Linked DNA regions of Homo sapiens: region 2 is linked to region 1. Evidence: promoter capture Hi-C in human tissues and cell types (Jung and others, 2019). All regions are on one chromosome and are shown on one strand. The core of a region is centred on a gene start or on the middle of the fragment in contact, and the rest is flanking DNA. Distances in the headings are between cores, read along the strand shown. Region 1 holds the start of IER5L (immediate early response 5 like). Region 2 overlaps LOC124900275 (extensin-like).

Region 1 (7,667 bases), core at 3,808-6,307:
TCTAATTCCCCTACCTCCCTAAGCAGCACCCCTAAGTCCTGTCTGGGGGCTCCACTGGTCTTTTTACTGGAGGGAGAGAGGCTTGTCTGTGGAGCTGAAATGGACTCCTGGTTTGCCTGCCCGCCTGACCCCATCCCCCTTTCAGACGACCCCCATGGCCAGGCAACCCCATCCACCCGCCTCCCGGACCCAGCCTCTCACTTGTGCTATGCACGGGAACATCGGTCTCTCTGGATGTTCTAGGCTGGTATGTTTCCTGCTGCGCCAGTGGCCCCAGGGATTGTGAGTGGGGTGAAGATGCAGCTTAGGAGCAAGTGTTGGAGACAGTGTGTGGCTGGGTGTGGCCCTCAGTGTGGGGTGTAGTGTAGAATCAAGGCTGTGCAGCCTGTTACAGTTTTGTGTGGAATGTCTTGGTGAGACGGGTAGATTGCCAGTGGGTTGCGTTTTGGGTCAAGGGGAATTATACTCAGGGCACTAACCCTTTGTGGGGCTGCCCAGGTCCTTGGGCCCCGAGAAGATAAGGGAAGGGGAAGGGCACCTCTCTTTAGGGTGCTCCCAGAGCGCCCCATCCCATCCCTTGGCATTGCTAGATTCCAGTGTGCGGCTTAGGCTCAGATCACCCGGCAGAGGGGAGGGGAGCCCTCGTCTGGGGTCCTGCTGAGTTCAGAGATCTTATTTCGCACCCCACCATCCACTCTCCTTTACCACAGGGATCCCTGGGGCGGGTGGGGAATTCCCAAGCCCTTTGGCCGGTCCCTTCCAGTGCCCAGCTCCCAACAAAGGGGGCCGACCACGTGCCCCTCCTCGACGTGGGCCTGGAGTGGGGACGCACGCGGCCCCGGGACCCAGCTCAGGCAAGGGCGAGATGCAGACTCCACGCAGCTCCCCGGGTGGACGCGAAGCGGCCCCCGACAGCCCCGCCGCCTCCGCCGAGCCTCGCCCACTCTCAGCCCCAGCCACTGCAGCGCGCCCGAAGCGGCGCTAGGGGGAGCTCTGGCAACTGGCTTCGTGGATTGAAGCAAAACCGTGCAGCCAACCGCGATTTCCTTGGACTTGCAGGGGAAAATGGGGAGGGAGGAAACGCACTGTTCCCCCTCCTCGGCAGCTCCAGACTCTTCCCGTGGGAGGCCGATGAAGCAGCCCTGGGGGTGAAGGTGCCTTTCCTCCCCGCGACTCACGCCCCCAGAGCCTCCTTTTTCCCCACCCCCAACGCGGACCTCCGCGGACCCCCGCATTCTGGAGAGTGTCCCCGAGAACTTCGCCTCGCGTGACACCGGGATCCAGAGCGGAGCAGTCCCCGGGGACAGGCTTGCGTCCGCCTCTCAGAGTCTGGCTTGGGGGCCTCTTGGCGGCAGCCCCTCCTGTCGCCGCGGGAGGCGCGAAGGCTGGGGTGGGGGGCGCGAGCCGTCCTGCGGGGTGGCTGCGAGGCTCGCACCGGCGAGGGCAGTGTGGGGGCGAGGGAGCCAGCGAGAGCGAGGAGCTGTGGGGAGTCGGCAGCAAACAGCCAGCAGGCTGCCACTTTGCTTTCTTTTTCTCGTTCTTTCTTTCCTAACCCCTCTTTGCAAAGCTGGAACTATCCCGCGCGCCCCTGGGCCCAAGCCGCGGCTCCAGATGTGGATTTGTTTCCAGTGGGGAGAACGCGAGCTTCCCCCGGGCCTTGGCACATTCTCCCACTCTGAGGTCATTCCGTAGGTGGTCAGAGGGGAGCGCGCGCCGGGAGCCTTCCTCCCTCCATCCACTGGGGAGGGAAGAGCGGCGGGTGGGAGGGAAGGAGAGGGAGAGGGGAGGGGCGCGAGGAGGGAGGGAGACGCCGCCAGCACACCACCAAGTGGCACCGAGCAGTGATAACAAACTCAACTTAAAAAAAAAAAAGGGAAAAAGAAAAGGAAAAAACTTCCCCAAGTTGCAGCCCGAGACATGCGGACGTGCGGGGCAGAGGCGCGGGGCAGGGAGTGCGGGTGGCCCTGAAACCCCCGGCGTCCCCCGGCTGCTTTCCCCGGCCACAGAGAGCTCAGACTCGAGGCCGACCAGGCCCTGCGCCTGTGCCTGGGCAGGAAATGTGCTGGAGGCTGGCTCCGCTTCCCGCTGGAGACCCCGGGGCGGCCAGTTCCCGTGGGGGACAGGACCCCCCTGGAGCGGGGGCGGCCGAGAGACGCGCAGCACCCGCTTCATCCCCAGCCACCAACATCACCCCCCATTCTCCCACCGCCGACCTTGCGGATGTGGGTAGATCCCGCCCGCCCAGGCCGAAGAGAACTGGGGTTTACATGGGGGTGGGCGGGGTCTCTCCCCACACCTCTCTATCCTCTCTGACGCCCCCAGACATCTGAAAACAAGGCACCACCATCTTCTGTAATCGACTTTTTATTAAGATTATAAATTTAAACAATCTGAACAGTTTTACCCGGTGATATACAATTCAGTATGCACAAAAATACAGGGTAATGAGGGAAAAGGGCCGAGAAAGGAAGGATTGGCAACTCGTTTTGGAGTCCACACGGTGCTGATGGCAGAGAACCAGAGGGGCTGCAGACGAACCCCACCTTTTTACAACAAAAGGCTTTTAAATTAAACAAATCTATCGAGCTGAAGACACAGGACGGGGTTCTCACAGGCTCGAACAATGCTGGTTTCATGAAATGCAACCGAAGGCTGAACCAAGGCAGTGCAACTTAGAAGCACACACACAAACACCACAGCTGACCAGGAACTTAGTGCAAAGTCTCCAACGCAGTCGGCGGTCCCGGCCCCTCCCTCCCCCGGGGCCGCCGGGGATCCAGGTGAAGGAATTGACTTCCTTTTTTGTTTAGTGAGGACCGCAGTGCTAGGCATGATGGGAAATGTAGTCCGCCGTGCCCGCCCCCCACCCCTTACCCAGTGTCCGAGAGTGTCGGGGTGTCAGGCGCCACCCCCGAGTCCGGGAGACGGGTGGAGGAGGGGAGGAGAACGGAGCCAGAGGGGCGGGGAGAAGAGGGGTTCAAGACACCCGCCCCGGGAAGAAAAGAAAAAAAAAGTTGAAGTGTTTTCATTTCTGCCTTCTCATTTTGAGAACTTTGGAGTCCGCCCCCAGAGAGGAAATGTGACCCAAACGTCCCTTTCGGAGATAGAGTTTGCCTTTGTTTTTGCTCAGAATTTCACAAGACCCATTCCTCACCCCACAGAGGGACTCGGGAGAGCGGAACGTCGGGCTTCCCGGGTCTGACAACTGATTGGAATCGGCTTCCCAGGTCCGGCGCCCTCCTGAGCTGCGCCCCCGGCGCGCCCCGGCGGCCAGGGCGCCCTGCCTCGCCCCCGGCTGCCCGGCACCTCCTCCGGGCAGCAGCCCTCCCTCACGTGGTAGGCTCCTCGCTAAACACCACTGCAATCACTACAATAAAAAGAAAAAAAGGAGTAGGAGAAACACAAAGCATACTTAAATAGGCGCTTTTTCTCTCTGCAAAAATAAAGTCCAAGATTTTAGATTTCTTTTTTTTTTATTTTACAATTTATAAAACATCAGCCGCCTGCCCCCGCTCGCCCCCAGCTCAGCCCCGAGTGGCCCGGCGCCCGCTCGTTCCCTCCTCTCGCCCCTTTGCCGAGTCTTTGTCTGGCCCCAGCCCCGCGGGGCCCCGGGTCCCTGTGCCCTCGGGGGTCCCTAGAAGGCGACAATGGCTCGAGTCCAGGCGCCGAGGCTGGCGAGCGCCTGCTTGGCGCACAGCTGCCCGTTGAGCGGCGGCGGCTGCTCCGAGGAGTCCGGCTGTCGGCTCACCAGCCCCGAGAAGCCGGAGCCAAAGATGGAGATCAAGTTTGAGATGTTGGACGCGTCCGGGGACGAGTCCGGGCAGAAGTCCTCGAAGCGGGCGCGCTTGCAGGGGGCGAACGGGGCGCCCCCGGGGGGCTCGGCCCCCAGCCCGCCCGCATCCTCCTCGTCGTCTTCCTCCTCCTCCTGGCCAGGGTAATACTTGCGCTTGCAGCCGGCGGCGGACGCCAGGCCCGGTCCCGGAGCGCCCTGGCCACAGCAGGGGCAGTGGGCGGAGGCGCAGCAGTCCTGGTGCAAGTAGCCGTTCTCCACCGTGGTCACCACGTGAGTGTCTAGGTCCAGCACGGTGGTCTGGCTGCTGCAGTGCAAGCCGAAGTCCGAAGGGGTAGGGTATGCGCCCCGGTAGAAGCCGGGGGAGGAGGCGGGGGCCGGGGAGGCGGGCGGAGAAGCGGCGGCGGCCGGAGGGGCGGCCCCTGGGGGCGCGGAGCAGGCGGCCGGGGCGCGAGGGTCCCGCGGGCAGAGCGCAGCGGGCGCGGGCGGCGGCAGCGGCAGCGGCAGCGGCGCAGGACCCGGCTGCAGAGGCTCCAAGGGCTGCCCGCGGTGGGGCGCGCCGTGCGGCGGCTGGAGCGCGGCGCACCCGGGCAGCTCCGAGAGCGCCCCCGCGCCGCCCGCGGGCGCTCCGGCCGCCGCCGCCGCCGCGCAGCCCCTGGGCGCCGGGTGCTGGTGCTGGTGCAGCTGCTGCTGGAGGTGCAGCTGGTGGAGCTGGTGGAGCTGGTGCAGCTGGTGCCGGGCGGCCGGCTCGCGCGCCTCCGCGTCCCCGCCGCCGCCAAGTTGGAGCGGGCCGAAGTCGGCCGCGCTGGCCGGCATGCCCGGCGCCGCGTACGCTAGGTGCTGGTGCTGGTGGTGGGGCGGCTGCTGCTGTTGCTGCTGCTGCTGGCGCCGGTAGAGCTCGGCGTAGCGCTCGCTCAGGTAGAGCTGGCGCGCGTTGCGGAGCACGTAGGACACCAGGAGGTTCTTGTGCAGCTTGATGCCGCCGCGCTGGGTTCGGGAGCTGTGGATCTTGCGCAGGGAGATGCTGATCAGGCTCTGGGCGTCCAGGGCGCACTCCATGCTCCCGCGGAGACGGCGGCGGAGCAGCCGCCGCCGCTGCTGCTGTTAACGCTTCTGCTGTTTCTGCCTCCAGCCGGCCGCCGGGGCGCGCCGGGCAGGGGTAACGGAGTCCGGGTCAGAGGTTCGGCTGCGCTCCGAAAGGAGCCGCCACCATGCGCCGCGCGCCACCCGCGGGCTCGCGCTCCCCAGACGGCGCCAAAGCAATGAGTCTCGGCCGGCCCCGGCCCCAGCTATTTAGCCGGGTGCCCGGGCCCCGCCCCACATGAGAAGAGCCAATAGGAGCTCTGAGAGTCTCCTGAGTGACAGGCGCAGCCCGCCCCGGGGCTACTCGGCTGGCCAATCAGACCAAGGCGGTTCCTTTGTGCTATTCAAATACCGAACGGACCCCGGGCCTCCAACGCCGCTGCTGCCTCGAATGTTCTCCTGGGGCTGCCGCGCCGCGCGGGACTCGGAGCCGCCGGGGCCGCAGTCTGCAGCATAGGTCGCCTGGCAGCGGCCACGTTGAAGCCCGCGGCTGCCCTCGCCTTAGGTCCCGGGAGCCGGGGGTCGGCTCACCTGAGTGCTGCGGCGACGGCTCCTCCCCTTTCCGCACGGCTGGGCCTCACCTGCGGCAGGTGCGCGCCGCTCATCGCTCCCCCAGCGGCGCGGCGCCTCCACCTGCGCACCTGTCGCCCCCCCGAGTGACCCGCGGGAGTCAAGGCCTCTCTACAGGAGGCTGGTGGAGCCGCCGGCTTGACACTGGGGAACATCAAAGGAGCGAGGTTTTGGGGGTACCCTCTACCGCAGAGAATGTAGGGCCTGACTCCTTGACTTTTTGGTCGAGGGGCCTCTGGGAATGCTTGCGGAAGGGAAGTCCTCCCCATTTGTCTGACAGGAAAAACCAAAACATCGTGAATTTTGACCTTCTCTGATGGAGAGAGTTCCGAGGCCAGGCATGACCCAGGGAGTGTGTGGACCTCGCGACCAGCTGAGGCTCAAAAGCGTCCTGGGAGCCGAAACGCTGAGTGCCCTAATCACCAGCTCTGTAACCTTTCCTTTCGTGCCTAACTAATAATAATGACAATAGGGACTATTATTATGGGCCTAATATGGGGCAGGCCCTTCCCAGCAACTCCCCAATGCCTCACTCTAACGTTTGTAGAGGAGGGGCCTGAGGCTCGGAGGAGTGGAGTGACTTGGGGAACCACACAGTTCCCAGGGGGCGGAGCTAGGAGCTGGGACAGGACCCTGCGCTCGAGACGGGAGGTGAATACCAAAGGCCCGGGGACTCACCGACTTAACTTCTGTTGACACAGCTTTCCTTCTTATCCTGAACCCTTCAGGTCCCAGCTGGGGACTGAGACAGTGGGAGAAGAGAGGGACAGGATTGCTGATTCCTGGGGGCGCTCTATCTGGACCAAGAGGCCTGAAGGGGGCTGGTTGCTGCTCCCAGGGGTTTCAAAGGTGCCTGGGGTGGGGGCTGCCCAGACAGCTCTGGAGGCTCTTGGAAATGGTCTGGAGGTTTGCCTGAGGAGGGTCCATGAGTGGATCCCTGAAGGATGAACGAGGTCTGCAGAGTCTCCCAGAGATAGGTGGACCTTGTGGGGCTGGACTCAGGGGGGAGGCCCATGACCAGACGTCCTGCTGCTTCACCGCCTCCTCAGGGGATCTTCTGAGTCTCTGCTTTTTGGGGCTTCCTTCTGAGTTCTCAGCACCTACTTCATCCCTTGGTGGGAGTGGAGAGACCCAGTAGCCCACCCTGTGGTCTCTGGGTCTTTCTTTAGTCTTAAGAATTTCCAAGATTTCTGCAAAAGTTTCTTAGCATCTACTCCATGCCAGGCGTTGAGAGTGAAGACAGAGTTAGCGGGTGTTTACTTCATTTTTCCGATGAGGAAACTCGGACACTGACAGCGTGAGACTTGCCCAAGATCACATGGCCCCAGGGCTGGTGCTGTGTCCTTCCCTTGGCCCCCTCGAACAATCTCAAACGCTTTGGGCCCCTGTGACCAATAGCACCTCTCCAGGCCTCCTCCCAGAGAAGCCAGGATTGAAATTTCAGGGGACTTCAGATAAAGGATGTCCTACCTACATTTTATTGGTGATACAGACCTACAGGCTGTGGAACTTGCTCAGGTGATAACACGTAGAAGTAAAAATACACTGCCCTTCACTTCCCTGGTGCCTGTCTTAAAGGCACACAAAGACTTTATTTATGGCCGGGCGCGGTGGCTCACGCCTGTAATCCCAGCACTTCGGGAGGCCGAGGCGGACAGATCACGAGGTCAGGAGATCAAGAGCTTCCTGGCTAACACAGTGAAACCCTGTCTCTACTAAAAATCACAAAAAATTAGCTGGGCGTGGTGGCGGGTGCTTGTAGTCCCAGCTATTTGGGAGGCTGGGACAGGAGAATGGTGTGAACCCGGGAGGCGGAGCTTGCAGTGAGCCCAGATGGCGCCACTGCACTCCAACCTGGGCAACAGAGTGAGACTCCGTCTCAAAAAAAAAAAAAAAAAAAGACTTTATTTATTTATGTTTGAAGTTCACCTTTGAGACATCACTAGCATGCAGAGGGATCTGGGAGCTCTTACCGGCTTTACAGCTGTGAGGACTCTGTATGCAACAGTGAAGTCTGGGATCCACAGTGTCTGGCACACTGCAAGCCCACAGCTCCAGAAAATATTATCAGCACTGATTTGGGGTCTTCTTTCTGTCATGGCCCAGTGTTTATTGGGGGAAACTAAGAGTTTACACACCTTGCTTGAGGTCACATACCAGCAAGGGGTGGAGTCAAGATCTGAGCCCAAACCCATCTGTTTCCAGGGTGGGAGTTCACCAGAGG
Region 2 (7,667 bases), core at 1,571-4,070, 330 kb after region 1:
GAGCTCAGGTGATCCGCCTGCCTTGGCCTGCGATAAAATTGCACAGAAGTAAATACACACACGTGAGGATACGGAAAACCGGGGAAACCTGAGCAAGAGCAGTCAGACCCCGGCTGTGATGGCGCCCAGTAGTTCTGCGAGATGTTACCATTGGGGAAACTGAGTGAAGGCGGGTACCTGGGATCCCTCTGTTTTCTTTTTTGTTGTTGTTGTTATTTTGAGATGAAGTTTCCCTCTTGTTGCCCAGGCTGGGTGATCCACCTGCCTCGGCCTCCCAAAGTGCTGGGATTACACGCGTGAGCCACTGTGCCCAGCCTCTCTGTTTTATTTCTTCTTTTTTTTTTTTTTTTTTTGGAGACGCTCTGTCGCCCAGGCTGGAGTGCAGTGGCACGATATTGGCTCACTGCAAGCTCCGCCTCCTGGGTTCACACCATTCTCCTGCCTCAGCCTCCCGAGTAGCTGGGACTACAGGCGCCCGCCACCTCGCCCGTCTAATTTTTTGTATTTTTAGTAGAGGCGGGGCTTCACCGTGTTAGCCAGGATGGTCTCAATCTCCTGACCTCGTCATCCGCCCGTCTCGGCCTCCCATAGTGCTGGGATTACAGGCATGAGCCACCACGCCCGGCTGTTTTATTTCTTATAACTGTACAGGAATCTACAATGATTGTAACAAAAATTTCAATTAAGGCCACTCTAGGCACATGGCCTGTGGGGTAGCCCTGCTCAACAAGAAGCCGTCAAAAAAATGTTTTTTAATTAAAAAATTTCTTCAATTAAAAAGCGTTATCTTCCTCTGCCCGGAAAGGGTTAAGTGAGTCACTGCAGTTAGCTCCCCTTCCCCCACAACCACCTAGACCAGGCCAGGGACCAGCGGGCAATTGCCTGGCAGCTGGAGTTTTCCTCCACTGTGGACTGTACTTCTTGCGTCACTCTGAATGTCTCCAGTCTTTATTCCAGAATGTTCTGGTCCTCTCCCACTTTTCCAAGGACAGGAATTCCCTAGTGGGGCTCCAGAAGAGGCTCTGGAGGAGAACAAGAAAGGCCCTTGTCATCCATTGGCCTCAGGCTGGGAAATCTCGGTTCCACTCCCAGCCCAGCCTCAATATTAGGTTGTCAGTCTGGAGTCTGAGAGCCATGCCCCCACCCCCTTAGTCCTTCACCTCCAGGAGAGTTGGGGATACTGGAAAGAATGTTGAGTGTCAGAGCCCCTCTCAGTGGCTCACGCCTGAAATCCCAGCCCTTTGGGAGGCTGAGGCAGGTGGATTGCTTGAGGCCAAGAGTTCAAGACCAGCCTGGCCAACGCGACGAAACCCTGACTCTACTAAAAATACAAAAATTAGCTGGGCGTGGTGGCACACACCTGTAATCCCAGCAGCTCGGGAGGCTGAGGCAGGAGAATTGTTTGAACCTGAGAGGTGGAGGTTGCAGTGAGCTGAGATCACAACACTGCACTCAAAAAGTAGTTAATTAATTTAGTTTAATTAAAAAAGAATATTGAGTGTCAGGCAATCTGGGTAGAACCCATTGTGTTTCTACAGGATAGAATCTGCTGTGTTCTCTAGCGGAACTTCCGGATCACCTTCACCGTATGACTCTAGACAATCCCTGTCCACTCTTCAGTTTTAGATGCCCCATTCAAAGAATGAAAGAATTGTCCTAGATGATCCTTTAGGGTCTTCCAGGCTGATGACAAGGGGGACCTGGCCCCTCTGCTGCTGGCCAAAGAGGACTTTACTTCCCATTCCGTGTGGTTGAACAAGAATTGCTGGGCTCCAGTCCTGCCTTTGGCCCTTCCCTACATGTGACCTTGGGCCCTCTTTGCCTTTCAGAATCAATACAGTGAGAGAGTTAACACAAGCTCAGGTTAGTAAGTCATTCAACAAACATTTACTGAGCGCTTATCAAATACTGCATGCTGGAGTGGACACTGGAGAAAAAGGTGAGGAGAAGGCCGGGCGCAGTGGCTCGTGACTGTAATTCCAGCACTTTGAGGGGCAGAGGCAGGTGGATTACCTGAGGTCAGGAGTTTGAGACCAGCCTGGCCAACATGGCAAAACCCCGTCTCTACTAAAAATACAAATATTAGCCAGGCATGGTGGTGCATATCTGTAGTCCCAGCTACTCAGGAGGCTGAGCAGGAGAATCACTTGAACTCAGGAGGTGGAGCGTGCAGTGGGCCGAGATTGCACCTCTGCACTCCAGCCTGGGCAACATAGTGAGACTCTGTCTCAAATAAATAAATAAAGTGAGGAGAAAAAAATACCATCTCTGTCTTCACAGAACTTATAGTTTGAGAGGGGAGAATCCCACAAGTAAATTATAAATCTCAGCTGAGATTATGCAAAGAAGCAAAGGCCGGACGTGGTGGCTCACGCCTGTAATCCCAGCACTTTGGGAGGCCGAGACGGGCGGATCATGAGGTCAGGAGATTGAGACCATCCTGGCTAACACGGTGAAACCCTGTCTCTACTAAAAATACAAAAAAATTAGCTGGGCGTGGTGGCGGGCGTCTGTAGTTCCAGCTACTCGGGAGGCTGAGGCAGGAGGATGGCGTGAACCCAGGAGCACAGGTTGCAGTGAGCCGAGATGGCGCCACTGCACTCCAGCCTGGGCGACAGAGCGAGACTCTGTCTCAAAAAAAAAAAAAAAAAAGGAAGCAAAGTGCCCAGCTGGGATGGTGGTTTCAGAGGCCACAGTGGGAGCTTCCCAGAGAAGGGATGATTGAGCTAAGTCTAAGCAAAAGGGGTGGTCAGGGCAGCAGCTGCTCCAAAACAGGGGCTGGGGGCTTATGTGGAGAGAGAAGACATGGAGAGACCATGCCCAGAAGGAGGCGGCGGCTTCAGTGAACAGTGCAGGGGAGCAGGTCCGAGGAGGCCGCCTACCAGGGGAAGGAGTCTCATCTCCATCCTAGACAAAAAAAGGATCTTTTGAGATGCATTAAGCAGGGGAGTCACAGATTGGATTTGTGTTTTGAGAATCTCCTGCTTACCTAGAGAAGAAGGGCATCTCCTGGGCCCTCACTGTTGCCTTAAATGATTTTTATTGTGTATTACTTAAACATGTGCAAGCATAAAATGAGATATAAACTCCTTGTAGCTCTTATACAAGCATCAGACCAAGACAAATTGACCCATCACGTACAAAATCGATTCAAATCAGATTAATTTTATGTGACATGTTATTATGCCTTTTGTCTGAAACCCTGCCACCACCCACAGTGCAATTATGGCCCAACCACTGTGGTGTTCTGAATTTGTGGGACAGAGAATATTGGCCTTTTAAACACGTGCATGCATGCATTTGCGTGTGCGCACACACACACATCCCAAATGATTTTTTCCCACTATATATGAAGAACTCCTACAAACCAAAAAGAAAAAGGCAGACAATTCAAGAGAAAAATGGGGGAGGGCTTGCATTAAAGTACTTCATAACAAGAGTACTTAGGAGGCCAACAAATACACGAAAAGCTGCTAGCTTCATGACTCATGGGGGTGGCTTGGTCAGTTCAGGATACTGTAACAAAATACCTTAGACTGGGAAATTTATAAACAACGGAATTTATTGCTCACAGTTCTGGAGGCTGGGAAGTCCAAGATCAAGGCAGCAGTAGATCCGGTGCCTGAGCCCGTTCCCTGCTTCAAACATGGCACCTTCTTGCTGTATCCTCACATGGTGGAAGGGGGAAGACAGTTCTCTGGGGCCTCTTTTATAAGGGCAGTTATCCAATTCACAAGGATAGAGCCCTCATGACCTAATCACCTTTCAAAGATCCCCATCTTCTAACACCTTCTAACACCATCACCTTGGTGATTAGGTCTTTTTGTTGTTGTTGTTGTTGAGATGGACTCTCACTCTGTTGCCTAGGCTGGAGTGCAGTGGCGTAATCTTGGTTCACTGCAACCTCTGCCTCCCGGGCTGAAGTGATTATCCTGTCTCAGCCTCCCAAGTGGCTGGGATTACAGGCGTGTGCCACCATGCCCGGCTAATTTTCATATTTTTAGTAGAGACAGGGTTTCACCATGTTGGTCAGGCTGGTCTCGAACTCCTGACCTCATGATCCGCCCACTTCGTCCTCCCAAAATGCTGGGATTACAGGCATGAGCCACTGCACCCAGCCGATTAAGTCTTAACGTATGAGTTTTTGGGAGAAACTCAAACATTCGGACAATAGCAAGGAGAATACAAAACCACAGTGAGCTACCGCTTCAGACACCAGAGAAGTTTAAGTGAAAAAGACTGGCAATACCAAGTGCTGATGAGGATATGGAGCAACCAGAACTCTCAGACATTGCTGATGGGAATCTAAATTAGTATAACCACCACGAAAGCATCCGTAAGGTTTAATTGTGTTGAACACACCCTGCCCTCTGACCAAGCATTTCCACTCCTGGGCATACAGGCAAAAGAAATGCATCCACGTGTTCATCAAAAGATGTAACCTGTGCCAGGTGAGGTGGTTCATGCCTGTAATCCCAGCACATCGGGAGGCCAAGGAGGGAGGATTGCTTGAGCCCAGAAGTTCGAGAGCAGCCTAGGCAACAAGGCAAAACCTCGTCTCTACTAAAAAGTAGCCAGGCATGATGGTATATGCCTGTAGTCCCAGCTACTCAGGAGGCCAAGGCATGCAGATTGATTGAACCCGGAAGGTGGAGGCTACAGTGAATTGTGATCTCGCCACTGCACTCCAGCCTGGGTGACAGAGCAAGATCTTGTCTCAATTAAAAAAAAAGGAAGAAAGAAAGACATAACCTGGAATATTCACACCAACACTATTCAGGATAGCCCTAAACTGGAAAGAATCTGAATATCCTCCGGCTTTAGAACAGAGAGAAATTATAGACTATTCATTCATACAGGGGATGATTGATCAGCTTTAAGAATAAACAAACCGTACACAACAATATAGATGAATCTACAACCTTAATGTGCAAAATAGTTCACATATATAAAGGACAAAAACAGGCAAAACTACTCCATGGTGTTAGAAATAGGGGTAGAGGTTACCCTCATGCGGCAGGAGGGTTAGTGATAGGGGATTTGGAAGAGGAGGAGCCCAATGGACTGAACAGCTGAGCTGGAAACAGCAATTTGTTCCTTAAAGTTCTGAACCCAACTGTTATCCAGCATGGAGTCTGTCTGGAGAGGCCAGATGTGGGGCCTCTCACAGGGGAATGAGAAGTGCCTCTCAGGGTCCCACCCATGATCCCCCTTTCCTTGCCCACACAACCACCAACTGGCAAGTAGTAACCCAGGACCTGTAGCCCCCACTGGCTTGACACAGAGCATAATGCAAGCTTTTCCTGCTCCAGGTCCTGGACACCACTTTGCCCTTTGCCCCACACGTACAGCCCCCTGACCAAAAGCTGGGTACTCTGGCTTGACTAGAGGGAGCTAGACTCCAGGAATAAGTAAGGAGCTGGGCTTCCACGCTAGAGAACAAGAGCTTCTCTGGGGAAAGGGGCTTCCCATGAAGCCCTGGGGCACTGGGAGATTAATGGGCAGACCTCTGGCCTCAGCTTCCAGGGAAGGGGAGGGTGTGGGCCAACATGCGGTGGCTACACTGACCACAAGCCGATGACCCCAGCCAGCCTCAGGATGTCTCAGCTCTAGGCATGGTTTTTCGTTTTGTTTTGTCGTGTTTTGTTTTTGAGATGGAACCTCGCTCTGTCGCCTAGGCTGGAGTGAAGTGGCACCATCTCGTCTCCCTGCAACCTCCACCTCCTGGGTTCAAGCGATTCTCCTGCCTCAGCCTCCTGAGTAGCTGAGATTACATGTGCGTGCCACCTTGCCCAGCTAATTTTTGTATTTTTAGTAGAGATAGGGTTTCATCATGTTAGCTAGGCTGGTCTCAAACTCCTGACCTCAAGTGATCTGCCTGCCTCAGCCTCCCAAAGTGCAAGGATTACAGGCATGAGCCACCATGCCCGGCATAGGCATGGTTTTGACAATCTGTCTCTTTGTGCCCTGGCTCCTTCTCCAACTCCTCTTTGGAGGAGGCACAGGAGGAGGGGTCATTTCACTGTTCCTGAAAAGTAGACATATAACCTACATGCAACTGCCAGGTGATAAGGGCCCCATCTGTCTGGCATGACGTTGGAGGTCCACAAAGGCTGATTAGATGAATGCTCAGCTCTGGGGCCTCCCCACAGAGCTCACAGACAGGCGTGAAGGAAAGCAGGACTCTTATTAGAATATGTTCAGAGTTTTCACTGAAGAAGCCTCCTGTGTGGGCCAGGCACTGTGCTCAGTGCTTTGATTCACAGTCTCATTTAATTCTCACCATTTACAGACAAGAATTCAGCTAAGATCCTTTTCAATCAAGTCTGGCAATATCTGCCTTTCAATGGCAGTGCCTAGTCCTTTCATATGTAATATACTTATCATTATGGGTGGGTTTAAGTTTTATCATCTTGCTATTTGTTATCTATTTGTCCCCCCTCTTTTGTTCCTCCTTTACTGCCTTCTATTTGGTTGAGACTTAATAAAATATTTTATTCCATCTTCTCTACTTACTTTTTAGCTATGCCTCCTTATATTTTTGGTTGCTGGAGTGTTACAATATGCATTCTTCAATATCCAGTCTACTTTCCAATAATATTACACCACTTCATGTATAACGTAAGAACGTTACAAAAATATAATGCCAGGGCTGGGCGCAGTGGCTCACGCCTGTAATCCCAGCACTTTGGGAGGTCGAGGCGGGCAGCTCACCTGAGGTCAGGAGTTCGAGACCAGCCTGACCAACATGGAGGAACCCCATCTCTACTAAAAATACAAAATTAGCCGGGCATGGTGGCTCATGCCTGTAATCCCAGCTACTCAGGAGGCTGAGGCAGGAGAGTTGCTTGAACCGGGGAGGTGGAAGTTGCAATGAGCCAAGATTGCGCCGTTGCACCCCACACTGGGCAACAAGAGCGAAACTCCGTCTCAATAAATAAATAAATTAAATAAACAAATATATATATATATATATATGTAATGCCATCACATCTTCTCCGGCCTTTGGTGTTATTGTGGTCATATACTTTATTTTTGTATGTCTTATAGATCCCAGAATGCATTGTTATTTTTACTTTAAAAGGTGGATTAATTTTTAAAGAATTTAAGAAAAGAAAAACAGTCTTTGGACTGCTGGCCACAAATTCTCTGTTTTATTTATCCCCAAATAGTTTTATTTTTCCATTTTGAGAGAGATTTTCACTGATACCATTCGGAGTTAACAGATTTATTCTTTCATCACTTTTCAGATGCCGTTCCATTGTTTGCTGACTTTCATTGATTCTATGAGAAGTCTGCAGTCTTTTGCAGCGTTGTTTTCCTATGTATAATTGTCTCCTCCCACCCCACTCACCCCAGCTGCTTTCCACATTCTCTCTCTTTGATTTTCAGCAGTCTGCCCATGATGTGCCTAAATAGGACTTTCTTTGCATTCATCTTGGCTGGGGCTCACTGAACTTTCTGAATCTGTAGATTAATTTTCTTTTTTCAATAAACCTTGGAATATTTTCAGCATAATTTTTTTCCTGTCTTCTTCTCTCTCTTTTCTCCTCTGAAATGCCAATTAAATATATGTTAGACTGCTTTATCCTGCCCCACAACTTACTGAGGCGAAATTTTTCAATCACTTCTCTTTGTGCTTCTGATGACACTGGTGGCCCATCTGG

The links. The method cuts DNA at HindIII sites, captures the fragments that hold promoters and counts their contacts. A contact is called where the count stands out against the background at its distance.
Region 2: a fragment that was not itself captured here is called in contact with the fragment with the promoter of IER5L in region 1 in 3 of the 25 tissues and cell types used here (IMR-90 fibroblasts, dorsolateral prefrontal cortex and spleen).

Annotation. Positions count from the first base shown.
Region 1 is chr9:129,173,204-129,180,870 of GRCh38, forward strand. IER5L (immediate early response 5 like) reads right to left here and starts at 5,058. Exons shown (of 1, transcript NM_203434.3): 1 at 2,349-5,058. The coding sequence starts at 4,849. The coding sequence ends at 3,635. RefSeq lists silencers at 1,469-1,518, 2,150-2,249, 2,823-2,872, 4,313-4,652, 4,883-5,262 and 1 more and enhancers at 1,902-2,623, 2,553-2,612, 4,987-5,281, 5,019-5,942, 5,943-6,866. The HindIII fragment of the contact is 19,795 bases long and covers 1-7,667 here.
Region 2 is chr9:129,506,169-129,513,835 of GRCh38, forward strand. It overlaps LOC124900275 (extensin-like), which reads left to right. Exons shown (of 4, transcript XM_047424330.1): 4 at 7,251-7,518. LINC00963 (long intergenic non-protein coding RNA 963) reads left to right here. Exons shown (of 5, transcript NR_038955.1): 5 at 7,251-7,518. Among named protein-coding and RNA genes, the nearest start is that of LINC00963, 21 kb to the left of the region's middle. The HindIII fragment of the contact is 8,439 bases long and covers 1-7,040 here.